6 separate regions of the Homo sapiens genome follow, and regions 2, 3, 4, 5 and 6 are each linked to region 1. The links are contacts of gene promoters, found by promoter capture Hi-C in blood cells and fetal thymus (Javierre and others, 2016). All regions are on one chromosome and are shown on one strand. Each heading gives the region's core, a stretch centred on a gene start or on the middle of the fragment in contact. The rest is flanking DNA. Distances are from core to core; before and after follow the strand shown. Region 1 holds the start of C14orf180 (chromosome 14 open reading frame 180). Region 2 overlaps KIF26A (kinesin family member 26A). Region 3 has its middle 30 kb from the start of LINC02691. Region 4 overlaps LINC02691 (long intergenic non-protein coding RNA 2691). Region 5 has its middle 72 kb from the start of LINC02691. Region 6 has its middle 90 kb from the start of LINC02691.

Evidence for each region. Contacts are between HindIII fragments. The CHiCAGO score rates a contact against its expected background, and 5 or more counts as called.
Region 2: a fragment that was not itself captured here is called in contact with the fragment with the promoter of C14orf180 in region 1 in 13 of 17 cell types (megakaryocytes, naive CD4 T cells, M0 macrophages and 10 more); the score reaches 13.4 in megakaryocytes.
Region 3: a contact is called between a fragment that was not itself captured here and the fragment with the promoter of C14orf180 in region 1, in 13 of 17 cell types (naive CD4 T cells, endothelial precursors, M2 macrophages and 10 more). The highest score is 13.5, in naive CD4 T cells.
Region 4: a contact is called between a fragment that was not itself captured here and the fragment with the promoter of C14orf180 in region 1, in 2 of 17 cell types (M2 macrophages and endothelial precursors). The highest score is 5.8, in M2 macrophages.
Region 5: a contact is called between a fragment that was not itself captured here and the fragment with the promoter of C14orf180 in region 1, in 1 of 17 cell types (endothelial precursors). The highest score is 5.2, in endothelial precursors.
Region 6: a contact is called between a fragment that was not itself captured here and the fragment with the promoter of C14orf180 in region 1, in 2 of 17 cell types (endothelial precursors and M2 macrophages). The highest score is 6.0, in endothelial precursors.

The regions. Positions count from the first base shown.
Region 1 is chr14:104,577,866-104,582,516 of GRCh38, reverse strand. It overlaps C14orf180 (chromosome 14 open reading frame 180), which reads right to left and starts at 2,753. Exons shown (of 5, transcript NM_001008404.3): 1 at 2,514-2,753. The HindIII fragment of the contact is 16,067 bases long and covers 1-4,651 here.
Region 2 is chr14:104,158,665-104,163,315 of GRCh38, reverse strand. All of the region lies in intron 4 of KIF26A (kinesin family member 26A), which reads right to left. Among named protein-coding and RNA genes, the nearest start is that of KIF26A-DT, 22 kb to the right of the region's middle. The HindIII fragment of the contact is 3,634 bases long and covers 728-4,361 here.
Region 3 is chr14:104,190,817-104,195,467 of GRCh38, reverse strand. No RefSeq gene overlaps it. Among named protein-coding and RNA genes, the nearest start is that of LINC02691, 30 kb to the left of the region's middle. The HindIII fragment of the contact is 5,448 bases long and covers 1-4,651 here.
Region 4 is chr14:104,229,982-104,234,632 of GRCh38, reverse strand. The region is part of intron 1 of LINC02691 (long intergenic non-protein coding RNA 2691); the gene reads right to left. Among named protein-coding and RNA genes, the nearest start is that of LINC02691, 8.7 kb to the right of the region's middle. The HindIII fragment of the contact is 903 bases long and covers 799-1,701 here.
Region 5 is chr14:104,293,354-104,298,004 of GRCh38, reverse strand. No RefSeq gene overlaps it. Among named protein-coding and RNA genes, the nearest start is that of LINC02691, 72 kb to the right of the region's middle. RefSeq lists enhancers at 422-1,111, 2,495-3,186, 3,501-4,168, 4,169-4,651. The HindIII fragment of the contact is 5,388 bases long and covers 120-4,651 here.
Region 6 is chr14:104,310,916-104,315,566 of GRCh38, reverse strand. No RefSeq gene overlaps it. Among named protein-coding and RNA genes, the nearest start is that of LINC02691, 90 kb to the right of the region's middle. The HindIII fragment of the contact is 1,252 bases long and covers 1,935-3,186 here.

The sequences.
Region 1 (4,651 bases), core at 1,504-4,003:
GGAGGTGGGGCCATGAGGGCTGAGGCCCAGGACCTTGGTCTGGGGTGTGACCCTCCAACAGTCTTTGGGGGTCTAGCCCAGTACCCCAAAGACCCCACCTCATCTTGAAGCTGCTGAGAGACGTGAGGGCACTGATGGAGCCCAGCGGCCGTGGCAGTGCCGAGTCCCTCCCCCTCGAGACCAGCCTGCAGTGGGGCGTGGGGGCGGGCCAGTGGTTCTTGCCTGGTTCTGTGGCTTGGATAACGCCAAGCTCTGGGGCCCAGCCACTGCTGCTCCCTCCCACTCCTGCCCCGTCCTCCAGGACGCCGCCCGCTGGCTTCCCGCCTCCTCCCAGGCTGCTGCCTCTGCCTGGCCCGTGCCGCCCGCCCTTTTGCCCACAGCCCACCTCCTGATGTTTCTCTGTCCTCCCTGAGGGTTCCTCGGGGCGGGCAGTGCCCCCCATGCAGCAGCTGGCTCGTGAGAAATCCTGACATCCCACCCACCCCACATGGGAGGTCCTTCCTCGGCTCTGAGCGTGCGGCCCCACACTCCCGGCTCACCCCTCGCCTGGCACTGCCCTTCCTCGGCTCTGAGCGTGCGGCCCCACACTCCCGGCTCACCCCTCGCCTGGCACTGCACCCATTCACACGGCAGCCTCACAGCCTTCCAGGGGCAGAGGGTCCCGGGGCCTGAGCGAGTGCAGGCTGGGGCCAGGCTCCCTGTTTCCCTGTTCCAGGTGCAGCCTCCCCCAGGGCAACTCACTTGGGAGCTGGAGACAGGGGGCCAGGCTCCTGGGAAGCCAGAGACCTCCCTGGGAGAAGCTGGAGACTCACAGCCCCCACCCCCACCACTTACACACACACACATACATACTCTCTCTCTCTCTCTCTCTCTCTCTCTGCCCCTGCCCACCTGGGCTCCTGCTGGTGCTGTACCTCCGGGGTGGCTCAGGCCTGATCAGCCCCGAGATCCACTGGCGGTCACAGCCTCGCTGTCGCAGGGTGTGAACCAGAGCTGTTGCGGCTCACAACCAGCTGAGAAGTTTCCATTACGGCGACACTGAGCAGTGGCCTCAGCGGCCCTGAGGGCCCCGGCTGACTTGCTGCTCTCGGGACAGCCCGGTCCATGGGGAGGCCGTCAACCACGGGCTTGGTGGCCCCAGGAGGAGCTGGGCCTCCTCAGTCTCCCAGCACCTTAGTAGTTTGGCCACAGGCCTAACCCAATGGCCCTGGGGCTGCAGATGCAGGTTGTGCCTTCTTCCGGTGGAAGAAGACTGGGACCATGGACACTGCCTCGCTGGCCTTTCCTCTGCAGGGCGGAGGCAGAACACAGCCAGGCGGGGTGGCTGGGCTCCTGGGAAAAGCCTTGGCTCCCAGCCCAACGCTCACCACTGGAACCACGCTGGCAGCTCCCCAGACAACATGCGTTCTCGACTTAAGTAAGAGGGAGAACTTGTGGGGAGGCCCCTGGCTGGGCTGACCGCCCACTGGGCTTGCTCAGGTGCCTGCAGGCCCTACCAGGTAGGAACAGGAGCAGGAGCTGCCTGGTGGCCCCCTGAGGCCCCTCTCCATGCCTAGATGGGCCCTCACATCCCGAGGTGCAGTTAGGGCTCGAGGTAGCAGCAGTACCGGGTGATGGCTGCTCATCTGCTGGGTGCAGGGGCCACCCTAGGCCTCGAGAGCTCCAGACAGACAGGGCGGGGGACCCCCCCAGGCCCTTCCTCCCATATGTGGAATGGGGGCTGTTTGCCAACTGTCCAGGGCACTGCAAAGCTCAGTAGTGCCCAAGAAATGGCGTGGCGTCCAGTGCTGGGTGGGGGTCCCATGGCCACACAGGGCAGGACAGGGATTCCTTCTGACTGACGGCTCAGAAAAGAGCCAGTTCTCAGGGATTCCCAAACACTGAGAACTAGGCTTCAGTTACTGGAGTAACGAATCCATTCCTGCTAGGCTGGGCCTGCGTAGACTTGCCCTCGGAGGATGCCCCCCACCAAGGCCCTTCAGGGAAGGCTGGCTGGGTTCATGCCTGGCACGGCTGCCTGCATTCCCCTGAGAGTGCAGCCCCTTCTCCCACTGCCCAGGCTGTTTCGCGCAACATCAGGTGCCCTTTGGAAGCTCCTGTGTGGCCAGGAGCACCCCCGCTGCTAAGTTTGAAGTGGCCGTGTTCCCTGCTTCCCCCAGAGGCGGCCTGGCCTCAGTGTGGACACAGGGCCGGCCTGGGACTGTCTCCGTTTTAGGGAAACCATCAGTCCCAGGAGAAGGGGGAAGGGTGGCCACTCTGGAGCTTGTTCAGGTCACTCAGGATCATCAGTGTGTGCTCTGCCCAGTCTCTGCCCACACCTGCTGCCCAGCTGGGGCAGGTTCCCCACCTGCACCTGCCTTTGGCAATCTCTCCGCTCTGCCCAGTCTCTGCCCACACCTGCTGCCCAGCTGGGGCAGGTTCCCCACCTGCACCTGCCTTTGGCAATCTCTCCGCTCTGGCATCTTCATACCCAAGCAGGAAGTGAGCCCCCTCTCCCTGGGGCTGGAACTCACCTGGTTCCCTCCTGGCTCCCCGAGGGACAGAAACAGGCTCTTCGGGATCTCCCTGTGGGGCACAGTCCAGTGAGGTCCTGGACCCTCTTGGCCGGCAGCACCCCTCCCAGGCCCTTGAGAGTTGAGCCTCGGGCAGAACTGCAGGGCACACAGGTGAACGGGCCAGGCCCGCCCAGGCCTCCTTCCCGAGGGCTCTGATCTGGAGGCGCCACCGCCCGCTGGCAGGGCCGGGTCTGTTGTGGCCTTCGTCCCGTCTCCAGCCCTCTCTGCTGGATCGCAAAGCTGGGCCAGCTGGCAGCGGCCAGGCTATAATTACCTCTCCCCTTTGGCAGAAATAGCAGTGAACCCGAGGACAGGCCGCTGGCCCCGGAGCAGAAGGGGGTGGCTGTTTCCCAGGCCCCCGGTGGACAACAGACCATGATTTCAGATAAGACCAGAGTTTGCTGCTGTTCCTACCCCTCCCGGCCCAAATGTGCCCCCTCCCAGGTCAATTCCAGAGCTGTGCAGCTCTTGGAAAAACCTATGGATTGGAATTCGGGGCAGAGTGGGAGAGGGAGGGCACTGTGGGGCTGCGGGAGGTGAGGTGATCACAGAGTCCAGCCTCCAATAAGACCCTGACCCAGCATGGGGCCTCCGTGGTGGCGAGAGTGCCCGCCCTGCCCCAGGCCCCTGTGCCCCTGTGAGTCCTGACCTGGGGTTGCCAGAGGGAGAGGCAAAGAATGGGTCCCAAGCTGCCGTTTTGGGGCACACTGGCCGACCCTCGATATTGCCCTGGCAGGAAGGGGCAATGTATGGGTCAGTGAGCGATGGCAGGGGTGAGGGATCAGCCTTTCTCAGGGTCTGTCCTGGGTGGGCGTCCAACTGCCCTGCCTGGCGCTGCTGAGTCTGCCCCTCATTTGTAGGTGAAAGTGCAGCTCAGAGAGTTGAGGCACCCTGTCCAGAGTCACACAGCCCGGAGGTGGTAGCCTGGCTCAGGCTTGGTGGCCCGTCCTCGCCAGCCCCCCCGTCTGCTGGTGCATGTAAAGGCAGGTCTGAAAGAGGCTGGTGAGGGCATCACTGGCGCAGGGCACCACCACATGTGGGCAGACCCCTGCCTGGTTTGTGGGGCTTTGACCTGTTTCAGGGGACTGCTGGAGGAGGTGTGGAGAGACCCGTGTTTCTCCATTAGGAATGGGGGTGCATCTCCCTTGGGTAAAGCTACAGGACCCCTGGGAGCCCAGGGTGTGCCAGGCTGGGGGACAGTGTGCACAGAGGGTGACTGCTCAGGGCCAGCCGTGGGGCTGCATGGACACAGAGTCCTGGAACCCACCGTCAGAGCATGAGCAACGCAGCCACTGGGATGGGGTTCAGCAGACCGGCCCTCCCCTCACTGCCGTCTTCAGTACAGGGCATGGGGGAGCAAACTTTTCTCTTACAGGGCCATATGGCACACAGTGCGCTCTGTGTCTACACAAACGGGGTGGGCCAGATTGGCAGGAGGGCCTTGGCTCGCTGACGCTTGTTCCAGGGAGAGCACTGAGGAAGGCTGGGTGGTCCTGCTGGCAGTCTGGCTTCCTGGGAAGAGTGAGGTCCTGTAGCCAGACAAGACCCTCTCCCGCCTGTGCCCAATCTGGGCGCTTATCCTTGGCTTCCCAGGGCTGGAGCTGCTCCTCCCAGATTTCAGAGGTCAGGCTGCACTGCCCGAGGTCGGGGGGCTCCGGGACAACTCCTTCCTGACCCTTCTCATTGACAGAGGGGAGGGAACGGTCAGCCCACAGACCTTGGGTGCCGCCCCCTCTCTGTGCTCCCTGGAAAGGCGATGCGGGCTGACCCTGTGGACATTCGCTCTGGGTAATTTATTAGTGAGCTGATGGCTCGGCTCAGGGCTCAGGTCCCAGCGGGGTCATATTTCCGGCCGTATCTGATAGGGCTCGGCTGCACCCTCCTCGCCTCCGTCCATTGCGCCTCACTCCAGCCTGGGCTCTGCAGGGCAAGATAAGGCTGGCCCAGGGGAGTGCTGAGCTGCCGGGTCCGCGGAGGGTCCCCAGTGCCTGTGCCAGGCAGTGCCAGGGAAGAGCCCAGTTGTGTCAGGCCTGCCTGCAGCCGGCAGGTGGGCACATGTGCCCACGGGCAGTGGTGCCAATGACGTGGTGCCCAGG
Region 2 (4,651 bases), core at 1,295-3,794, 420 kb after region 1:
AGAGGGCAGAGCCACAACCCAAACCTCAAAGTGAGCCCCCATAGCGGGCAGGGAGACTGGGCAGGGGCCTGGGCGAGGCCAGAGGCAGGCAGGCAGGGCTGCATCTGCCCATTTGGGGGCACAGGTGGGAGGAGGCTTGGATTTCACCAGTGTCTGCTCTTGGGGTTCTTCCTGCCTGCCCACCACCCCAGCCTCAGCCTCCTGTTCCAGACCCCCCACCCCACGACCTTGGGTTACACCTCAGCTTCCCGCCAGCTGCCTGCAAGGGAAGAAGCTGCGGCCCCGCTTTGGAAAACATCCGCATCTAGCAGGCAGGACTGGGACAGGGCTACCCCACCCTGCTGCCTGGTGCTGCTCCAAGGCTGGGACCCCAGGTTTCTTGGGGCGGGGCGGGGGGAAGGGCAGGGCCCTGCAGGTGCAGGTGGGAAGCCCCCCACCCTACCTGGACAGGCAGGGCTGAGGACGGTCCCCACGGTGGCCCCTATAAGGGACAGGGAGCCTCCCTGGACCCCTTTCCTCCTCTGGAAATGGATGTGGGGGACGCCCAGCACCAGCCCTCACTGGAGGGTGTTGGCTCGGCCTCAAGTGGATGGGGAGAGGTCACGCCCACCCAGAGCCAGCTCCTCCACCCTCCCCTGCAGCCCCTCCCAAGGCTGGGCAGGGTCAAGGTACCAGCTGCAACCCAAGGCTGTGGGCAATAGGGCATCGGCACCCACACCCCCAAGCTTCCAGGGGACGCGGAGGCCGGGCAAGCACTGGAGACTGGAGCAGCACTTGGAGAGGCCAGAGGGAGATTGAGGCTGGAGCCTTAGGTCTGCAGAGGCCAAAACCAGGCTGGCCCTTTGCCCCGTCGGCCACACAAGGGCTCTGCCCCTCCAGTGACCCTCCCAGGAGCAGCGTCCGCAGCACAGATCTCAGGTATGCCTGGGCCACAGCGGGCACACCCAGGGCCCAGGCCGCCTAGACAGAGGCTGGGACCGGGCGTCCTCTGTGGTTCCATCAGCCCTGGAAGTCTGGAAGGTTGTTCGCCCCACATCTCCACCCCACAATCTGACCTAACTTGAGGCGCCTCCTCCTCCTGGGGCCCATCGCCAACAGGCTGCACCCCAGCCTGCTGGGCCCTCCCGGTGCCTGCTTTTACGGGCTTACCTCACTGGTATGACTCAAAGACCTGCCACTGCATTAACGAGGCCCCAGAACGAGCACTTTCTCCTTTGATGAAATTCAGGCCCCCATGGAAACGACCATCAGACACAGCAGCCCCCATCTGGCTACCACGCTTGGGTTCAACAGCCCTTGAGGGCCCACGGCCCTGTGGAGGCAGGAACTTACTTTCTGAGCAGTGGGGTTTGTCTCCCCCAGGCCACAGCAGACACTGCCCACACCCAACACTGCCAGGGAGCGGCGGCCCTCAGTGGGCAAGTCTGAGGGGTTTGACTCTGAAGGGAAGACTCAGAAAAGCAGGAACTTCACCTGCATAAACAGCCCCCATCCTCACAGGACACCTCCTCCAGGAAGCCTGCCCTGATGCCCTGAGATGGGTGTCCCCAGCCCCTGCGCCTCCTGCTTCTATAGCAACTACCCCCTGCCGTGAGACACCAGTTTACACAGCTATGTCCCTGCCAGCAGGGGGTCTGGGGGCAGATGCTCACAGAAGAAGCTCAGAACACGCGTGAGCGAGGATGAACGAGACAGCGGGCACCTGAACGGCCCCCAGAGCCACCAGGTGTCTTGCTGCAATCCCACAGCCTTGCCTGGGCTCATTGGCCCTGGCCATCGATTCATGTCAACAGAAAAGGAAATATTTTCCTTTTTACAGAGAAAAATCACCGCTTCCAAACAAGAGGGTAATTTCACAGGCAGTTGGCCTTGATGGTGAGGCCCTTAATTACCCCAAGGAGACACACGAGCCTGTTCTGTCGCGTGCAGGAATCACTTATGGCCAACCCAGAGCTTCCACACTGGGCCGTGCGAGGCTGGTGGACGGAGCCCCACCCTCCCTACCCCCACCTCACCCCAGGGGCACCTGCCACCTGCCGGACCTGCCCCACCAAGGAACCAGGGCAGGCATCGGGGGACCCCAGCTGGGTCCTGCAGACCTGCGAAGGGGACCCTGGACCCCAGCTGGAGGCAGCTGGAGACTGAGGCATCAGCCCCTCCAACTCCCAGCCCTGCTGTGGTCCACACTTCCTGTGTCCTGGATTTTCACCCACAGGCCAGAAGACAGGTGGGGACACCTCTCCAGACAGTGCCTTCCATGTGGGTCCCCAGCTAAGCCTCGGGCAGCGCACTCTCCCCGCAGGCGCTGCACTTCTGCTGGGTGCCAGCCTGACCGTCCATGGGCCTGGGCATCCAGGCTGACACGGGGGCTCTGCTGAGGCCACAGTGGGGTGGGGAGTGGGGGGCCTGGGTACCTGCAAGTGCCATGAGGTGCTCCCCACCCAATGGAAGCAACCTCCCTTAGCAGTTTTCTCAAAGACATTTGATTTGGGGTCTTGGAGGGGACCCCCATACCAGCATGGCAGCGAGCAGGTGAGAGTATGATGACGGAAGTACCTCAGAGGAGGCACTGCAGAGGCTCCCAGCGCCGGCACAAACCAGCGGGGCCTCAGACAGCGTCATCAGAGTTGCCAGAACCTTCAGGGAACTCCTAACCCTGGGGGTCACCAGAGCCTTCGGAGAACTCCTAACCCCGGGGCCACCCGGCCCACGCGCCCCACCCTCCCGAACACTTGCTGGGCCAGCATGCCAAGCTCTGTCACAGCTGCGCTGCCTCAATCCCTGCAGCTTCCCCAGGCCCCACCCAGGGGGTGAGGGCATGGGGCTCAGCCCCTGCTCTATCTATGCCCCTGTTAGCATTAACGAAACTCGGGTACCCGGGCACCCATGGGATCACTCCACATCCCAGCTTCCCTGTGTGGACATAAGGAGCCCAGAGGCCACTGAAAGGATCAGGGGGCAGCCTGAGGCTGGTGCCCTAATCCGGCTGGGGGGTGCTTGTGGGCAGCAGCAGAGCTGAGACTCCCCAGGCCCACGGGATTCAAAAACTCAAACTCCTGACCTCCACCCCATTCCGTCTCCACTTGGCAATGCTGCCTGCCAGACTCCTACTCAACCCTCAAAGCCCGCTCCCTGAGAGGCCACTCTGCCCTGACTGCTACACGGGTCCCGTGCTGCCATCTAAGGCTGCCTCCACAGAGGTGCCCCTCGGTCCCTCCAGACTGGAAACTTCCCAAGGGCAGAGCAGGGGCTGGGGTCAGTGCCACTCCCTCCCAGGTCCTCTTCGAGGGTGGAGGTGGGAGCACAGAAGGTACCCTCAGCACGTGCCCAAGACCCCTGGGGCGGGGGCTGAAGCTCCACTGTCTCCTGGTGGACTCGTCCCCACTCAGAGCCACAGCCCCACACCCACAAAACCCAGGAGTGGACACCCCCTCTGATCTCACCCCTGAGGGTTCAGGGTACTGCAGCCCCACAGAGGAGGTCACCCACCACCGACCCCAGCCCACGTCAGGCATCCACCGACAGGGCCCACCTGCCAGGATGTCCCCCGCCACAACCTGAACCACGACCTGCCACCTGCAGTGGCCTCGCAGAAGCCGCTGAGACCCAGGGTGCCTAACAGGCTGGAAGTAATGGCAGCCGGCAGCGCCCCCGCCTTGGGAGAACCGCCTCTGGGTCCCCAGCCCGATGCGCTGGTTTCTATGGTAACTTCCCAAGGTCAGCAGGCAGCGCGGCTGGCAAGCGGCACCGGCCTCGGCTCCCAAACAAAAGGCAGCCAGGGCCGCTCTGCTGGGCTCCAGGTCACCAACGCACCGGCCTGGGGGCCGACACCCTACCCTTACTTCCCAGTGTCAGGAACCCTCCTTGGCACCAGGGGGCTTAGCATCAGGGACCGGGGGAGCTCTGAGCACTGGAGCTATTCTTTCTTTTCTGGAAGTCTCCACGTTTCAAATCCTCCTGCCAAACAGGACCCAAAGGAGCACGGCCACAGGGCTGTGCCCAGAACAGCCGCACAGGCCCTTTAATTCAGGACTAGGCCGGTTGTGACGGGGTGGGCTGTCCCACACACGGGGGACCCCAGAGCAGGATGGGCAAGACCCCCATCTGCTCCCACCAGGGTCCCAGCCAGCCGTGCTCTCGGCACCTAATTGGGGTGGCGCTGAGGCCACACTGGTCACGTGCGCGGTCTGGCTGTGCTCCAACGCGATGGTGTGCTCATCAGCCCTCAGCCCGGCACACGGCGTGCGACAATGCCCTAATCATATGCCCCGTCACTCTGCAATCAGACCACACGGTCCCCAGGGCCGGCGCTGATAAGACGCCCTCGTCTCTGGCCGCTGGGTGTGATGCATGTTCAAGCTTATCAGCACCCGCGTGGGGCTGCTAATGGGACACTGACCCGCGGCTGGGCCTGCCATTACCAGGCATTATGGCAATTACATCCTGTAATCCGCATCCTTACACCATCAGGATGAGAGGAGGCTCTGCCACGGGTCCCAGGACCAAAGGCCCTGCCGGGAAGGGCCCAGTGGAGGCTCCCACACCACGCCCCTCCATGCCAACTCCCCCTCCCCACCTCTGCTCTCCTGTTCCCTCTGCCTGGCCCACCCCATCCACACCACCAGTCGGCAAGGACCTGGTGCCTGCAGGG
Region 3 (4,651 bases), core at 1,089-3,588, 390 kb after region 1:
GTTCCCCGGGCAAGAAGCAGCCCGGCCTGCCCTGGGCCCAGCAAGCTAAGGCCCGGGGACACCCAATGGCTGTGGGTCCTTTCTGTGTTTCAGACTCAGATTCCCTGGGATGGGTGATGCATCAGAGTCCTGTCCAGCATGCAGGGCCTCATCCCACCCTCTCCCTCCCACTCAGCCTCCCGCACCACCCTTCCCTGCCTCACCCCATGCCCCCAGCAGTCTCTGACGCCCCCAGAATTGGAAAGGGGGTGGTTTGGGAAGGAGAGACCCTGCTGGTGGTCTGGGCACAGGTGGGACTTCCAAACCGCAAGCAGCCCCTGCTGCTGTCCCTGGGGTGTCTCTGACTCCCGCCACTACTACAGGGCACCTGTCTCAGGTGGGCTGCTGTCCTTGGCCGCACGAGAACTCTGCACAGGGTCTTCACTCCTCGCTGTGGCCCGGTCCGCTAGCAGGAGGGTCTGCGTGTGCAGAGTGGTCTATGGAGAGACCCCAGGGCAGGGACTGCGAGGGGGCTCGTTGAAAGGACCACTGTCCAGTCCCCAAGAGTGAACACCAAGCAGGGGGGCCAGCATGCCGTGCCCCCCTTGGCCCCATCCTCAGCCTGGCATGCTGGGCCCTGCCTGGCCGCCCCCACAGCTCAGCCAACAGTAGAGCTCAGCCCTGGCCTCACCGAACACAGACATCCCCTGAAACAGACACCTGCCAGAAGGACCCTCACCCCTGCATCTCTGGTTCTCTCTGCCCTTCCAGGTTCCCCTAAGCACCTCCTCTTCCGGGAAGTCTTCCCTAACCACCCCTGGCCCAGATGGAAGCACTTCCCTTCCTCTGAGTCCCCCGCACTTTCTCTGCCTCTCTACTGGCCTAATCGTCTGCTAGACCATCAGTCACCTGCTGGACCGTAGGTGACACCCTGGACCGTAGAAGCTCTTAAGAGTCTTAAGAGCTTCAGTCTACACCTGACTTCCCTCCCTCAACACAGCCCTGACACAGCACGAGCTGAGAGCTTAGGTCTAGGGAACTAAAGAAGAACTAGAAAAGTCTGGCTTCACTGAGCCCACCATGTGCTGGGCACCGGGGATCATCACGCACACCACCCACTTCACCCTCCAGGACGAGGGACAGCTCTCCCCATTGTCCAGAAGAGGAAATCGCTGCCCAGCAAGGACAGAGCTGAAGGCCCAGCCTAGCCTCGCTGCTCCGGAGCCCTGGATGGGCAGGTGCCCTGCCGTCCGGAACCCACGGCACCCAGCCAGGACCATGGAGAGACAGGCACCTGCTCCAGGATGGCACATCCACACTCCTGAGCTGAGGAGATTGTGGAGCCAAGACTGTCTCTGCAGAAGCCGTTCATCCACCCCCTCCCCTCTGCCCAGCCCTGACCCCTCATGGCTCAGGGTGCGCGGGCCACCTCGGCCAGAGGCCTTCCCAGCGCTGAACTGTGCAAATATTTGTTTCTTTAAGAGAAAAGAAGACCCTCTGGTACTTCCAAGGGAGCATAAATGGGGCCCCAGGAAACCCCACCAGGATATGGGGCTGGCTGATGCCTGGAAGCAGCTCAAAGCAAACCAGGTAATTACCAAAAAACCAGGTAAAAACCAAAAACAGACCAACCAGAGCAGGACCTGACTTCATGGTGAACAAATGTTCTTTGTGTTTTTAAGTGAATGCTGCATTTTAAGCCAATCCCTTCCCACCTGCCCCCGCCACTGCCATGCTCCCCCTGTGCCCAGGTCACCTGGACAGAGGCTCTTCCTGGACCAGCCCTGAGAGCTTGAGGGTCCCGACCCTGCCATGGCACTGGGGCTGGGTGGAGGCACTGAGGGTGAGGAGGGAACCCAAGTTGATGCCCCGGTTCCGGAAGAGGATGAAACAGGGCCCCCAGGAGGGGTGCACAGGGGAGAACAAGTCTGAGAGATCTGGGGGCCGGAGGGACATGGGGCAGATACCAGAGAAACGATGGAACTGCAGATGTGGGGCACAGGGATGGGGTCTGGGGGCCAAGGTGGCCCAGGGGGACGTGAAGCCCCAGGGCAGGGGCAGGTGGCCCAGGGAGAGTGCAGGGAGGAGGACAGGGCTGAGGGCCACAAAGGGACAGATGAAAGACACATCCACAGGGTGGGGGGGAGTGGCCGGGGTGGGGGCCGAGAAGTGGGCACAGATGCCAAGAGAAGGGCACCAGGGCTCTGCCTTTGAAGGCTGTGAGATCTCGCCCAGCAGAGGCCTCGGTGGTTGGGGAGGAGAGGGCTGAGCAGCCTTGCGAGAGGAGACCACCCCAGCCTTGATTTCCCCAGGGGTGCACTGGGGTAGGTCCCTGGGAGTGGGCTGGGGTCTCCCACAAGGCCTCCCTGGGGGCTGGGAGCTCATTTGCGAGTCTGCTCAACCTGCCCCGGCTCTATGTTCACACCCCATGTATTGCCACCCGACGCCACGATGCCTGTGCCTGGTGCGCTGCTGCTAGAAGCTCTCAAGTGCGGCGGAGCCCCCTCCTCACCCAACTCACAGCAAAGGGAGCAGGAGAGAGAGCAGGCCAACCAGCCACAGGCAGGGGGCATCCCCACCCCTGCCTCAGCTCTGGGTGAGGCCCTTGGGAGACAGAAGCAGGACAGCCCCCAAGAGCTGGGCAGAAAGACGAGGGCAGAGGGCCCCGGGTAGCTGAGCCTGAGATTGGGGAGCTGCCTGGAGCAGGGAGCCAGGTACACACAGGGGCAGGGCTGTCCCCAGACCAAGACCTGCCCACAGGCCTCAGCAGGCACATCCCATGTGCCAGCCCGCCCAACGCCCAGCCCCTTCCTTTTCCCCTGCCTCCAGCTCATTCCTTGCCCCCAGAAGCCAGAGCCTGTCCCACTGACCCCACCATCCCATCTGAACCACCACCCAGCTGCTCCAGCTGGCCAGGCTGTGGGTGCTGAGCTGTTCTGAAGAGTGAGGGCACCAGGCTCCCGGAGGAGCCCTCAAGGCCAACCAGTCTCAGGAGCAGGGGCAGAGTCCATGCCGAGTGCGAGGAGACCCCTCTGCCCCTCTGCAGTGCCCCTCCGGCTCCACCAGGCTCACCCCAGGGGCAGACGCAACCCAGTGTGGCCCCAGGGTGGGTCTGGCCCTCCTTGTGGCCGCCCGTCCTCCTGCCCAGACCCAGGGCTCTGCTGCGAGGCGAGGCAGGGAGAGGCCTGGCTCTCCTTCCTCCCGTCAGCCTTGCACAGGCCGGCCTGCCCTGGACCTGGCCTTCCTGGTCTGTAACACGGGGTGACACGGATACCTGCCCACGCCTGGACATGGAGGGGCCCCGATAAATCCCCGTGGCAATGGCAGCAAATAGTCACTGCCCTAGAGAGGACCAGGCAGCAGCTCCTGGTGCCCCCACCCTGTGCCGCTGGCTCCGGGCACTTCACAGGCCTTTTTCTATTTCCCAGGCTCCATGTTGAGTCCACACAGCTGGTGGGAGCAGAGCCTGGCCGTGGACCCGACGGGAGGCTGCACTGTGCACACATCATCCTACCCCTGTCCGTGCCATCCCCATTGGAGCCAAATCCATTGGCGTTCCTTATGTGCCAGGCACCACTAAGCTGCATACTCCGGGTCAAATCATCTAACTGAGCCCCAGTGAGGTAGGGGTGAATACGGATCTCCAGTTTCAGAGGAGCACAGAGAGGTTCAGTAGCACACCTGGGGTCACACAGCAGGCAGAATTTGCACTCAGATAGCCCAGCTGGTCTGGGCACTGAGGCCAGTCACTGCCCGACACTCCGTGTCTCTGTGACACTAGGTGAGCCCCACCCAGGAACGGGAGGCAGGAACTGGCAGGCCCTGGGCCGTGTGGTCCGTGCAGGTGGGTTCCCAGGCAGAGCCGCCTCTCCCTGCGGTGCTGCTCTGTGATGGACCCGTCAGACCCAGGAGGTCAGCCCCGATGGCCGCCTCAATCCGCAATTGCCGTTCAGCTGACAGCAGCGTGGATTTACGAGCAGCCCTCTGCCTCCCCACGGTGGCCGAGCCACCATGCCCACCCCAACCTGGGACCAGTCCTCAGACCTCCTAGGGTCTTGGCCCACACGTCCTCTGTTCCCCTGAATGCAGGTGCAAGGGGAGGCCCCTGCCTGCATTCCCCACCTCTGCCTCTCACCCACCAAAACTTCTTGCCCCAAAGCCTCTGCTCTCCCCATTCAGGGACCCACCCACCTCCACTGTGCAGGGAGCCCTAAGCCTCCAAGTTCCCATTTCCATAATGGGGAAACTGAGGCCCAGGGGGCTGAGGTCACAGGTCGGAGCTGGCTCCTGCAAGGCCAGGCTGTGGCTCTCGCCAGACCTTTCCAACCTCCACCCTTTAAAGTGCAAAAATCAAAGGTCAGTGTCATTTCACCAGTGCGAGGCCAAGGGGCTTTCCTAGGTCACAGGGCAGTTTTTGATGCTGAGTCTGGGAGTACAGCCCACCTCTGCAGCCTGGCTCATGGCGGGGAGCAGGGAGGAGGCACGGGATGGAGGCAACTGGGGTTCAGGACAGTGAGCTGCAGGCCCGACCAGCCCCACCCTCTGCCCCCAGGGCAGGAATCAGGAATGGAGACAGCTAGCGTGGACCCCCGGCCTCCCCAGCACTCCCACCTCAGCCTCTGTGCCTGCCTTTCCCGCTCCCAGAGTCCCCTCTTCAGAACCAGCCACATAA
Region 4 (4,651 bases), core at 1-2,500, 350 kb after region 1:
CCCCATACTGGCTGCTTTCATGGGCTGTGCAGCTTTTCCAGGCACAGTGCAAGCTGAGCTGTTGGTGGATCTACCATTCTGGGGTCTGGAGGACAGTGGTCCTCTTCTCACAGCTCCACTGGGCAGTGCCCCAGTGGGGACTCTGTGTGAGGGCTCCAACCCCACATTTCCCTTCCACACTGCCCTAGCAGAGGTTCTCTGCAAGGGCTCCACCCCTGCAACAGACTTATGTCTGGACATTCAGGCATTTCCATACATCCTCTGAAATCTAGGCAGAGGTTCCCAAACCTCAATTATTGACTTTTGTGCACCTGCAGGCTCAACACCACACGGAAGCTGCCAAGGCTTGGAGCTTGCACCCTCTGAAGCAACAGCCTGAGCTGTATGTTGTCCCCTTTTAGCCATGGCTGGAATGCAGGGCATCAAGTCCCAAAACTACATGAAGCAGCAAGGCCCTGCACCTGGCCAAAAAGACCATTTTTTCCTCCAAAGCCTCCAGGCCTGTGATGGGAGGGGCTGCTGTGAAGACTTCTGACATGACCTGGAGACATTTTCCCCATTGTCTTTGTGATTAACATTTGGCTCCTCATTACTTATGTAAATTTCTGCAGCTTGAATTTCTCCCCAGAACATGGGTTTTTCTTTTCTGCTGCATCATCAGGCTGCAAATTTTCCAAACTTTTATGCTCTGTCACCTCTCGAATGCTTTGTTGCTTAGAAATTTCTTCTGTCAGATACCCTAAATCATCTCTCTCAAGTTCAAAGTTCCACAGATCTCTAGGGCAGGAGCAAAAAGCTTCCAGTTTCTTTGCTAAAACATAGCAAGAGTGACTTTTACTCCAGTTACCAACAAGTTTCTCGTCTCCATCTGAGACCATCATCTGGACTTTATTGTCCATATCACTATTAGCAACTTGGTCAAAGCCATTCAACAAGTCTCTAGGAAGTTCTAAACTTTCCCACATCTTCCTGTCTTCTTCTGAGACCTCCAAACTGTTCCAACCTCTGCCTGTTACCCAGTTCTGCCTGTTACCACATTTTTGGATATCTTTATAGCAGCACCCCACTCTTGCTACAAATTTATTGTATTAGTCCATTCTCATACTGCTATAAAGAACTGCCCAAGACTGGGTAACTTATAAAAGAAAGAGGTTTAATGGACTCACAGTTCTGCAGGGCTGGGGAGCCCTCAGGAAACTTATAATTATGGCAAAAGGCACCTCTTCATAGGGCAGCAGGAGAGATAATGAGAGCCAAGAAAAGGGGGGAAGACCCTTATAAAATCATCACCCCTATGATTCAATTACCTCCCGTGTGGGGATTATGGGAACTACAATTCAAGATGAGACTTGGGTGGGGACACAGCCAAACCATATCAGCAAGTCAGGGTCAGGATGGAACTAAAACCCAGTTCTGCCCAAGCCAAAGCCTCTAATGGTTCATAAGATGATACCCCAGAAGAGATGTTCCCTAGCTGTGCCCAGGTCAGGATGATGCTCTCTCCAGCACCAGCCTGAGCTTGAACAAAGGCATCTTCTTTGTGTAGAAAGCAGCCAAATATGTCATCCTAAGCTGGAGCCCCTCCTCCTACTCCTGGGGAGCAGCAGTAGAGTAAGCCCCATACCACCTGCACAAGCACCCCCTCCCCATCAGCAGACCCCACATCAGTCACCACAGCTTCACAGCCTTGACCCTCAAGCTTTCCCCATGCTGCCTGCCTACCCAGCCTGGTGTCCTGGTAGTGGGAAGACCTACCACTGGACTCCACAGACAAATGCCAGTGCATGGATCCCAGGGGGTTGAGCCACTTGATCCCTGGATCCCATGGATCTGGCATACTCAGCAGCCAGATTAGCAGCCTCCCTTGCAGGCCGGACTTGGGGGATAAATAGAGGCAAGGATGGAATTAGCATCTTCAGATCTCTCTGGGATGGGAACAAAACCACAATCTCTGCCAAGTTGATGATAATGAAGAGATGATGACAATGACAGGGATGATAATAATGATGACAATGACCATGATGATGATGGTGATGATGGTGATGTGATGGTAATGATGTGATGGTGATAACGATGATGATGACAGTGATAGTGATTATAATGATGGTGATATGATAGTGATGGTGATGATGGTGATGATAATGATGGCAATGATGATGGTGATGATGATGGCAATGATGGTGATGATGATGTGATAGTAATGCTGATGACAGTGATGGTATAGCTATAATGATGATGATGTGATGGTGATGATAATGGTGATGAAGATGATGGTAATGATGGTGGTGATATGCTCATGGTGGTGTGTAATGGTAAGGATGGTGGTGGTGACGATGATGCAATAGTGATGATGATGGTGATGGTGGTGATGATGGTAATGGTGATGATGGTGGTGAGAGTGATGTGATGGTGATAATATTGATTATGATGATGATGGTGATGATGGTGATGGTAATGATGGTGGTGATGATGGAGTGTAATGGTGATGGTGATGATGATGGTGGTGGTGATGACGGAGTGTAATGGTGATGGTGATGATGACGGTGACGGTGATGATGGTGATGATGATGATGGGGTGATGGTCATGGTGATGATGATGGTGTTGATGATGTTGATGGAGTGTAATGGTGATGGTGATGATGGTGGTGGTGATGGTGATGGTGGTGATGTTGATGATGGAGTGTAATGGCGATGGTGATGATGGTGGTGATGTTGATGGAGTGTTATGGTGATGGTAATGATGATGGTAATGATGGTGATGATGTGACAGTGATGATCATGATGGTAATGATGATGGTGGTGAGGGTGTTGTGATGGTGATATGATGATTATGGTGATGGTGACAATGACAATGATGACAGCCATCTTCTGTTAACCACCAACTACATGTTAGGTACTCCCCATGCATAGACTCATTTGATTCTCACAACCATTTAGAAAGATGAATGGCATGTCCTCCCTCCATGGAGGAGCAAACTCAGACTCCTCAACTTTAAATGTTCACTAAAGTGGACACAGAGCTAGAGTCAAGCTTTAGGCTCAGGCCAGGCCCCACCACCAAGTGCTGGTGCAGGGCTGGACTGTATGAGCCCTTGTCATTGTTCTCTGAATTATCTCAGCAAGCCTGCTGTGGTTGTCATTTTACAGATGAGGAAAGTGGGTCCCAGATGGGGTAAATGACTCAACAAAAGTCAAAGCTCCATCAGCAAGTGGCAGGTCTGAGGGGCAGCATCACGTCCCAGAGTGCTGGAGGGGCAGGCAGAGGCCTGGCCTCTTGGCAACTATGAGCCTCCATGCCTTCATCTCATCTGTCATTATAGCAGTAAGGGTCATCCTGACCACCTTAGAGGTGCCCGAGGAGATGCACAGAATGTCAGGCACCCACCAGGTGCTTGGCAAACCCCGCAGGGTCTAGCCAATCCCAGAACCAGGCTCCAGCTCCCAGTCCTGTGCTCCTCTCCTTTGCTGCCCTTGCCCCTCTGGCCAGACCTCCAGGACCATCAGTGGACTCAGGTCGTGGCCTGGGAAGCTGCAGACCTGAGCGAGGAGAAACATGGTGAGGAGCAGCTAGAGGCTGAGCCTCCTCCAACATCCCCACCAGGACAGCCTTGTAAGCAATGAAATGGTTAAGGCCTCCCAGCCCAGCAGAATTGGCTCATTATCATTTCTAATATGGATCAATACTCTTCAGGCATCTGACAAAGCCGGCAGCTCTCTGTTCCCTTCCTGCCCTCCAAACATAAAAGATCCCCTAAGCCACACTGGCCCGGGGCTCTGGCCCTAGCCCCCTCCTCAGGCCTCATCTCCATAGTGGTCTTAATCAAGTCGTGGGGAAAGATGCAAGTCAATAAGTCCTCATTGATCACCTCCTCTCCCCTCCACCCCACTGACATTCTGTCAGCCCCTCCCCCACAGCCAGCCGGGCTAATGGGGGTCCTTGCCTCCCACGTAGGTAGTGGGTGGGGGGTGCTCGTGAAAGCCCTGATTGCTCTGAGGCCCAGGGCCTCCGTCGCAGCGAGGGCTCCAACACAACATATGCCTCCTGCCCGACGGCTTTGTCTTCAACAATAAAACAGGGTTTCTCTCCCGCCTCAGCCCTGGGTCCAATTTATCAGGCCTGGCACTGATCATCTGCTTCCCTGTCACCAGCCGGACTTGGGGGATAAATATAGGCAAGCAGATACAGAATTACCGTGACCAGATCTCTCTGGGTCGGGAACAAAAACCACTTTACACTCCTTATGAAGCATTTCCACCATCACAGACATGAAGGCAAAGGGGCGGGACCCCAGCAACCAACGGGAGCTCATCCTTCCCCTTGTAAGAGCCAGAGGAAGCTGCCACATGGAGCTCCCAGGCTGTGTTCCTTTGGGAAGTCACCTGCAGTGACTGAGCCTCAGTTTCCCATCAGGGACACCTACCTTGCAGGGCTGCGACAAGCACTCACGGAGAGAATAAAACAAAGGATCTTCCACTGAGCTTAGCAGACAGTGGGTGCTCCGTGAACGGCAGTTAGCGCTGCTGCCTTTAACGGTGCGACTGTCCACAGCCAGGTATGGCATTCGGGATGTGTCACGTCCACGCCCCACGGAAATGTCAGTGACAGTTCGCACCCTTGTTCGTCCTCAGCCATCACTCCTAGAGCTGCCAT
Region 5 (4,651 bases), core at 1,564-4,063, 280 kb after region 1:
CCTGCCTGCTCCCCCATCCCAGGCCTCCGGGCCCCTAAAGTCTGGGGAGCCTGGATTCAGGGAAGGACCCATCACCCCACAAGGGTCAGGCCGGGGGCAGGATGTTCCAAGCAGAAGCTTCACCCAGCCCTGTGGGGTGGCAGGAGGGAGCCCACTGAGCACAGGCAGGTCAGAGGCTGCTGCCGAAGAGCTAAGCCAGGACCATCTCTGGTCCCCAGGAGCCACCACTCAGCCTCACCCACTGTGAGGACTGGAATATTCACCCATCATAGGGCTGTCCACATGGCGAGACTCCACTCACATCCACCAGAGCCTCCCTGGCCCCCTCTCCTCCTCCTAGAGGCTCCCCAAGGCCCGAAATTACAACGAGAAAGTTTTTCCTTGGACTCTTCAAGGCAGACAGGACCTGGCATCTCCTGTGCATGTCTGTGGCCTGAGCAAGAGGGGACGTGGGACTGCGTGGGGGCTGTGACAGTTCAGCTTGCCCACCCGGCAGATGGGTCCTCTTCTCCTGTGGCCACTGAAGGCAAAGCAGGGGTGGGGGTAGGGGAGGGGGTCCCAGCCCCGTGAGGCTGAAAGTCAAGGTGGGATCACAGAGAAAGTCCAGGGACAAGATCAAGCCCTTCTGAAAAATGCATCTAGCAAGCCCCTGCCCGGCTGTGCCTCAGTTTCCAGTTTCTCTTTGGCCCTCTCCAACTGGGTGGACAAGTCTGGTGACTCCTTCCTGCATGCCAGCACCTGTCACGGCCCCTGCGGCCCTGGCTGAGGCCCCTGCTGGGTGGCCTGGGTGGACCAGCCCTGGACATGCAGCAGCTGGCTCTCGCTGCTCCCCGCCCTGCCACCTGGGTCCCTGCACCTGCCTCGAAGCATCCAGTTCTGGAGCTTTTGTCCTGGGCCTGGGAAATGGGCATTTTCTGCCCATAGGCACAAAGGAGAAACTGCAGGCAGGCACGCTTCTGGAAAGTTCCAGGGCTAAGGAGATGCCGAGTCGTTCTTCCTCACCCAGGGGTCAGGTCCTCACCACAGCCCCCACCCAGTGGCTGCCCCCGCCTCTGGCCAGGAGCCCTGCCCGCCAAGCCAAGCAAGAGGCGGGACGCGGTGACGCGATGTCTCCACTGAAAGGGTCCCGCTTCCCCTCAGAGAAGGGGCCGCACATTAATTCACTCAAGGCCGGGGATTAGTCATCGGGCAAATAAGATTAAATGCCCTTGAAATGGAATTAAAATGACGTCAAACAGCAGAATATCATTTTCCTAACAGCCCTGCAAGATGCTTCCTGCTTTAACCCCTTCCTGGCCCCATCTCAACCCCCAAGAGTGAGCTCCAAGCTCGGGAGAGGTGGCACCCACGTCTCTCTGTGCTCCTGAACCTGGCTCAGGGGCCATCGAGGAATCAACACTGAGGCTACTCCTGCCAACACCCTCCCAGGGCCTTCTGAGTCCTTCAAATATCAGATGGACCTTCAGGCCCCAGGCTACAGCTGGTAGAACTTGAGCCCCAGGCCCTGCACAGGGCGAGGGGACCTCAGCCCAGCCTAGGGCCCCGGGAATAGGGGGCCTGGGCCAGGAAGGAAGCCAGGAAGCTGAGGAGGTTCCTGGTCTCTCCCTGGCACCTCCGTGCCTTCCTTCACTCGGTTCTTTCTCCTCGTTAGCACAGCCCTGCCTGCCCTCCTGGGGAACCAGCAGGCCCTCAGCTCCTTGTTCACCACCTGCAGCTCAGGGGCCCGAGGATTCGTCTCCACTTGCAGGAATCCTCTTTTCATCTTAGAAGAGAAGAGAGGAATGATAAGGCTGGGCCCAGAGTCCCAGGGAGGACTAGGCAGGCGGGCACCAGGGCTGGGAACAGCCCCTCTCCCATGGGGCTGTCCACACAAAGCCCTCATTTCCCCAGGCCCATCTGGGGTCTGGAACCCCCTTAGAAGCCAGAAAGAGTGAACCCCACCTGGCCCACCTCAGCAGCGCAACCCAGCCAGGGAAAGGGGCAGGAACGTCTGTGCCTCCTGTGCCCCTGCCCGGGTCCCCACGCCAGGACAGCGTCTTTGCAGACATTCATGGTGACCTGCCTAGTCGGGGAACATGCCTCTCTGTAGGAGGCCCTGGCTATTAGCACCACCGAGACGACCTGCAAAGTCGCTGGAAATCTTCCTCAATCATCAGCCTTAAGCCCTGATCATCATTTCTCATTTTCACTGAAACAATCACCTGTCGGAGAGGGTGGGCTGTGAGCTGCCCATTCGTCACGCAGGGCTGCCCTGGCCAAGTGCACGCGCCGCCCGGCCAGGCTCAGGCGTGGATCAATAGGCCACGTTCAGGCCGTCAATAGCTGTAAATACATTTGCGGGATCAGTCAGGACAGCCTCCTGCCCGGCCACCATCCAGGGAGCTGCTGGGCGCAGAGTACGAGTGGGGCAAGCGGTGTGCACCCTTTACCGTCCCTGGGGTCCAGCCTGTCTGGGGCTGCGTCTGTCCCAGCTCTCCCTGCCAGTGCTTCCACTTGGGCCGTCATCCTTGCTGTGCTGAGCCTGGCTCTGCCCGGCTCTGGGACTCCAGAAATGAGCCGTGATAACAGAGGCCTGGGAAGGGCCCCTCTGTGTCCTCCTCCTTGCCTTCCGCAACCCTCAGCAACAGGCCTCGGCTCCTCCTCTCTTCTCGTGGGGTGGCCTCCCATGGCAGCCAGTCCGGCTCTGGGGACGGTGAGTTCTCTCGATTCCGAGTGGAGATAAGCCCAACCCAGCATCCTCTCAGGCTGGGGGCAGCTCTCTCCACACCTGCACCGTGCCCAGGAAGTTGGCACTGATGCCCTCTAAACATTTCTCCCGGCCTGGCACCCTGTCTCCCTCCGGCCACCGCCCAGCAGAGGGCCCCCACTAACCAGGGCCACTGTCACTCAGAGTCCAGCTCAGGAACTGGGCATTTTCCCCCCACCCATCCCCACCACAGGGCAGGGCAGGGAGGTGGGGAGTCACCTCCTTCAGCCCGGACTCCGCATTCCGGTCGGGGACAATCCTTAGTGCCAATGAGGTCCCTGGTGTCTGTCACCCACTGCTGCTGTACTCTCCTCTCCAGAGACTCAGAATCAACAGGCCGTGGAAAGAGAGATTTATTGCAGTGAATTAGCTCATACAATGATGGAGGCTGAGTCCGCAGACCTGCACCGAGTCAGTAAGCTGGAGCCCTGGGAGAGCTGATGGTGGCAAATCAGGCCGGACACCAGCAGACTCGACACCTGGGTGGAGCTGATGTTCCAGCTCAAATCTGAAAGCAGGAAAGCAGCCGCCCTCCCGGCTGCAAGGCAACCAGTTTCCTCGTCATGCCTTCATCTGATTGAGCGAGGCCCACCCGCATGGGGGAGGGACATCTGCTGTGCTCAGTCTACGGATTCCAGCCTGAATCTCATCCAGAAACACCTGCACGGACACACCCCAAATCGGAGTCCACCAAATGTCTGCAGTCGCGTGGACACATAAAATTAACCCTCACAATACCTCTCCCTCTGCCCCAAACACGCAGCTGCTTCACCCACCTTCACCTGTTCCCCCGCAATTAGCCTGTGTCCCCCAGTGCCATCCATTCTGGGCACCCTGGTCAGAAGGCCCCATCGGCTCTGCCCCTTGGGGGTCCTCAGGATTTTGACTGAGCCCCCAGGGTTGGTGGCTTACGTGCCTACCTGCATTTTCCACCAGCAGGAGGAGCAGGCTCATTGCAGCTGCATTGGAGGACGAGGGCTGAGTCTAGCCTCCTCCTTGGGACTGCAGCCTCCAAGGCAGGCTCTTCACAGGAGGGTCACCAGAGCCCTCAGCTGGGAGCTGGCACATGGCCACTTCCGGCTAAATCGAGCCCGGTGGCCAAGCCTGCCATCAATGGGGACAGTGGATGAGGAAATAGTGTTTGCTGAGCGACAATCTTCTCTCTCACAGCCGCCAGCCTCAGGACAGGGAGCACGGGAGGGAGGCAGAGGGCAGCCCTCTTGTCCTTTCTCACCCCGGGATGCAGATGACAATGACCACACTCTGGTGACCAACCAGGCTGCCCCAGCCCCTCCCAGACACTCACCCGGGCCAGGCAGCAGGAGGAAGCTCCCTGGTGCTCTCAGCTCCCAGAACAGAGGATGCCTTTGCTTTGGGAGGATGGGGTGATCCTAACCACTGCTCCGTCCTGCCTTGGAGGAGGAGGCCTGAGGGTAGGGCCCAGCTACCAACCAGGCTGCTGCTGTGGACAGCCTCCATCCTGCCCAGGGCCCCTTCCTGGCAGCCCCCTCCCTCCGTTGCTCTCTGCACTCACCTCTGCCTGGCCTTGCCCCTCCCCCGGGGTTCATCTCAGCCTGCATCTCCCAACTCTGCACCTCCCAAGACAATCTCGTTTGGGCTCTGAGTCACGCTGGGGCCTCACAGGACATCTCTGGGGATGGGTGAGCCTTGGCTGGCGTCCCCGCAGAAGCGTGACCCTCACACCTGGGCCAGCGCTCTGAGGCCCCCGGCCAGCTCACCTGCTGCTAAAAGAAGGGAAATGAAGCACTGGCTTGTTTTCAAGGGAAAAGGCCGGCAGCAGATGGCCCCTGCAGCCCCCCGGCCCCTCCAGCCCCCGGGTCCCTCCAGCCCCCGGTCCCTGCAGTCCCCTGGCCCCTGCAGCCCCCTGGCCCTCCAGGCCCCTGG
Region 6 (4,651 bases), core at 1,311-3,810, 270 kb after region 1:
TCCTCAGGTGGGCAGGGGTGCAGTGAGGGCGAGATTGGGGAGGGGCTGAGAGGTGGCGGCTCTGCCTCGTTGGCTTTGGGGTCTCAGCATCTTGGCTTCCATGGTGAGGAGCCGGTAGCTGAGCCCAGACCCCATAGATCCAGCTCAAAGCCTGAAAAACAAGAGCACACGAACATAGGACATGGGCACTCACGCCGGGGATGGAAGCACCGGCCCTGCAGGAGGAGCCCGGTCCAGGGCCAGCTGCCCCAGAGCCAGGCTGGCAGGGGCAGGACTGTGGGGTCGGCCCCTGGCTCCGCCCCGTGCTCGCCAAGCCTCGCAAGCTCCTCTTTGTCTGGATCCAGTCTCCCCATTGGCAGAGCAGGTTTTTTTTTAATTTCTTTAATTTGCTTTGCAAATAACTCTGAATTAAAAACCATATATATCTATTTTTAAAGAGCCACTCTTTCACTCCCTTAGCTAAATTTACACGAGATATTTTTCCCTAGGAAAATTCAATTAGGTTTTTATTTTAGTCATCTAAAAGGCACTGGTGCTTTGAGTGTTTGGTTTTTAATTTAAGCCCTTGGTAGGACATTTCAATTGAAACACTGGGGATGAGAATGACCGGGCTGTTCCGAGGCAGGTGGAGACCCCAGAGGCAGGGCTGGGCAGGGCGGGGCAGGGCCACTGTGCAGGGCTGGGCATCCAATGGGCGGCTCAGACCACCTGGGGACTGACTGAGTTCCTCCACCCTAGGGGCCCCCAGGCACCGGGCGCTGACTCTGGGTGAGAGTCCACGCTGGGCCTGCAGCAGTGAGCCCAACAGGCCACAGAAGAGAGCAGGAGCCAGGAAGCGAGTCCTCCGAGGCCACAGGTCCAGCTGACCCCAAGGCAGGGTGCCTGGTGCAGTGACCCTCAGGCTTCACCCACATGCCCCGGTGGCCTGTTCCAGGGAAAAGGTGGAGTTGCAGCCACTCCTTGGACAAGGAGCAGTAAGGCGTTCTGGAAGTGGCACCTGCAGGCCTGTTCCGGGCTTGTCCTTTGGCTGCAGGGTTTCATCCAGGGTCTCAGCAAAGGCCCCCCCTCAAGTCTGTGCTGAGACAGGCAGCAAGCACGATGCTGAGAAAGGTGTGTGGCTCGTGCAGTTTGCTCAGCAGTTGGGAGGCCTGTCGTCCACTCCACACACGCATCCAGGCTGGGATCTCCACACACGCATCCAGGCTGGGATGGAGGCAGATGGAGCCAGGACATGCCCAGAGGCCCATCCAGGGCCTGACCTGGCACGGGGGACCTTGAGGTCGAAGCTGGGCCTTGCCCCGGGGAACGTGGTGAGAGAAGGGGACTCCCCCAGCCTCAGAGGCCTCAGGTTCCTCTGATGCGTCCTCAGAAGTTTCCTAACCTTGACATGGAAATGCGTCTCCTTCAATGAGAAGAGCCTGCAGTTCCATATGCTCTGAGAGCAGCCCCTCCCTCCCATACCCCTGCCCTCCCCCAAACCCAACATCCAGCCGAGAAGAAGACCTAGAGAGTGAGAACAGGGAGGGGCCACGTCCCAAGCAGGTTAAATTGGTGATACATATGCCTTTATTCGTTGTTTTTATTGCTTTACTTATTACACTTTTTATTCAGAGATTATTGTTGATCCCCAAGCAGCTACAAGAAATAACACAAACAGATCCCATGTGTCCTTCATTCCGTCCCCCCCAGTGGAAACCTCCAGCAAAACTCTAGCACGGTATCCCCACCAGGGTGTTGATGGATGCAACCAGGACACAGAGCACCCACCCCTCAGGGACCCTCAGGGTGCTCTTTTGTAGCTACACCCACTTTTCCTCTCACCCCCTGCACCCACTCCTTAATTTCTGCTAACCACCAGTCTCTTCTTCCCTTTCTATAAATTTGCCATTTCAAGAACGTTATATACATGAAACCATACATACAGTATGTAAGCTTTGGGGACTGGCATTTTTCACTCAGCATAATTCTCTAGAGATTCACCCAGGTGGCTGGACGTGTCACTAGCTCGCTCCTTTTCCTGGCTGAGTGGTGCTCCATGGTGTGGAGGCACCATGGTTTGTCTAATCATTTACCCATCGAAGGACATCTGGGTTGACTTCAGTTTAGGGCTATGGTGAATAAAGCTGCTCTAATCAGTAATGTACATGTTTTATGTGAACATGTCTTCATATCTCTGGAATACAAGACCAGGAATATAACAACTGCATCATAGGGTAATTGAGTTTTTAAAGAAATTGCCAAACTGTCTTTCTAGAGTGGCAATACTGTGTTACATTCCCATCCAGCTTCTCCACATCCTCACCAGCATTTGGTGTTTTCATTCTTTGTAAAAGTTAGTCATTCTGACAGGTGTGTAGTGACATCTCCTTGTGTTTTAATTTGCATTTCCTCCGTAGCTAATGACGTCAAACATCTTTTCATCTGTTTATTTGCCATCTATCTTCTCTCTTCAATGAAATGTCTCTGCAGGGGTCTTGCACATTTTCTAATTGGGTTGTTAAGGTTTGTTTACTGTTGAGTTTTGAGAGTACTTTGTATATACTAGATACTAATCCTTTGTCAGGTATGTGGTTTCAGATATTTTCTCTTATTCTGTAGCTTGTTCATCCTCTTAACAGATTCTATCATAGAGTGACAATTTTTAATTTTGATGAAGTCCAATTTATCAATGCTTCCTTTAAGGACCATGTTTTTGGTGTCAAGTCTATGAACTCTTTGCCTACCCCTAGTTCCCAAAGGTTTTCTCCTATGCTTTTTTCTAAAAGTTTCTTGGATTCACCTGTTACACTTAAACTATTTGTCCAATTTGAGTTAATTTTTGTATAACGTGTGATATGTTTAGACTGAGGCTCTCTTTCTGCTCAAGTAACATTTGCTAAAAGGCTATTTGTCCTCCATTAAATTACTTTTGCACTTTGTGAGATCTCACTTTGTCAAAAATCATTTGGGTACTATTGTGTAGCTCCACTCCTGAGTTCTCTCGTTCTAGTCCATTGGTTTGTGGGTCCATCCCTCAGCCAATTGACCAAATACCACCATCTAGACTAATATAGCTATCTAAAAAGTCTTGAAATTGGATGGCAGGATTTTTTTTTATTCTTTTTCAAAATTGTTTCAGCTATTCTAAGTCTTTCTTGTTTTCGTGTAAATTTTATAATTATCTTGTTTGTGTCTACAAAATAAGCTTGCTGGGATTTTTATAGGAATAGCATTAAACCCACATATCAATTTGGGGAGAATTGGCCTCTTTACTATGTTGTCTTCTAATCCATGAACATAGTCATTCTCTCTACTTATTTATATCTTTGATTTCTTTCATCAATGTTGTATACTGTTCAGCACAAGTCCTGTACATGTTTTGTTGAATTTATAACTATTTCATTTTTTGAGTAGTTGTAAATGGTATTCTATTTTTAATTTCAGCATCTGCATGTTCATTGCTAGGATATAGAAATACAATTGAGTTTTGTATGTTTATCTTGTACACTGAAACTTTGCTGAATTCCTGATTAGTTCTAGGAATATTTTGTCAATTCCTTCAGATTTTCTATGTAGACAACCTCCGCAAGTAGGGATAGTCATATTCCTTCCTTTCAGATATATATACTATGTCTTTTATTTGCTTTCATTGTCTTATTGCAAGAGCTAGAACTTCCAGCACTATGTTGAATAAGAATGGTGAAATTACACATCTTTGACTTGTTCCAATCTTGGGAAAAGAAATTCAGTATTAATTACATAGTTAGTTATAATTTTAAGTATATATATATATACTTGTTCCAATCTTGGGGAAAGAAATTCAGTATTAATTACATAGTTAGTTATAATTTTAAGTATATAAAGTTAGCTGTAGGGTTTTTGTAGATGTTCTTTAGCAAACGAGGAACTTCACCTCTGTCTTAGTCTACTTAGTGTTGTTATAACAGAACCTAAGAGGCTGGGTAATTTATAAAGAAAAGAGGTTTATTTGGCTCACGATTCTGGTGGCTGGAAAGTCCAAGAGCACAGCATCAGCCCCTGTTCAGCTTCTGGTGGGGGCCTTGTGCTATATCGAGACATGGTGAAGCGGGAAGGCAAGCAGGCATGTGCAATGCAAAAGCAAACACAAAGAGAAATCTCACTTTATAGCAACTCACTGTCACAATCACTAACCCAGTCCTGAGAGAAGGAGAATGCACTGTGGTTAGATGGCATTAATCTATTCATTAGGGATCCATCCCCATGACCCAAACACTTCCCATTAGGTCCTACTCCCCAACACCATCATAATAGCAATCAAATTTCAACATGAGTTTTGGAGGGGACAAACTATATTCAAACCGTATCATCCTCTATTCCCAGTTTGCTGATAATTTATCATGAATGAGTGCTGGATTTTGTTAAATGATTTTTCTTCATAGATTGACACTATCATGTGATTTTTTTTTTCTTCTTTAGCTTGTTAACATGATGAATGATATTGACTGATTTCAAATATTAAACCAGCCTTGCATCCCTGGAATAAACCCACTGAGTCATAGTGTATATTCTTTTTATATACTACTGACTTCTGTTTGCTAATATTTTGGTAAGGATTTTATGTCTGTATTCATGAGGGGTTATTAGTTTGTAGTTCGCTTGTTTTTTATACTGTTTTGGGTAATTTTAAAAT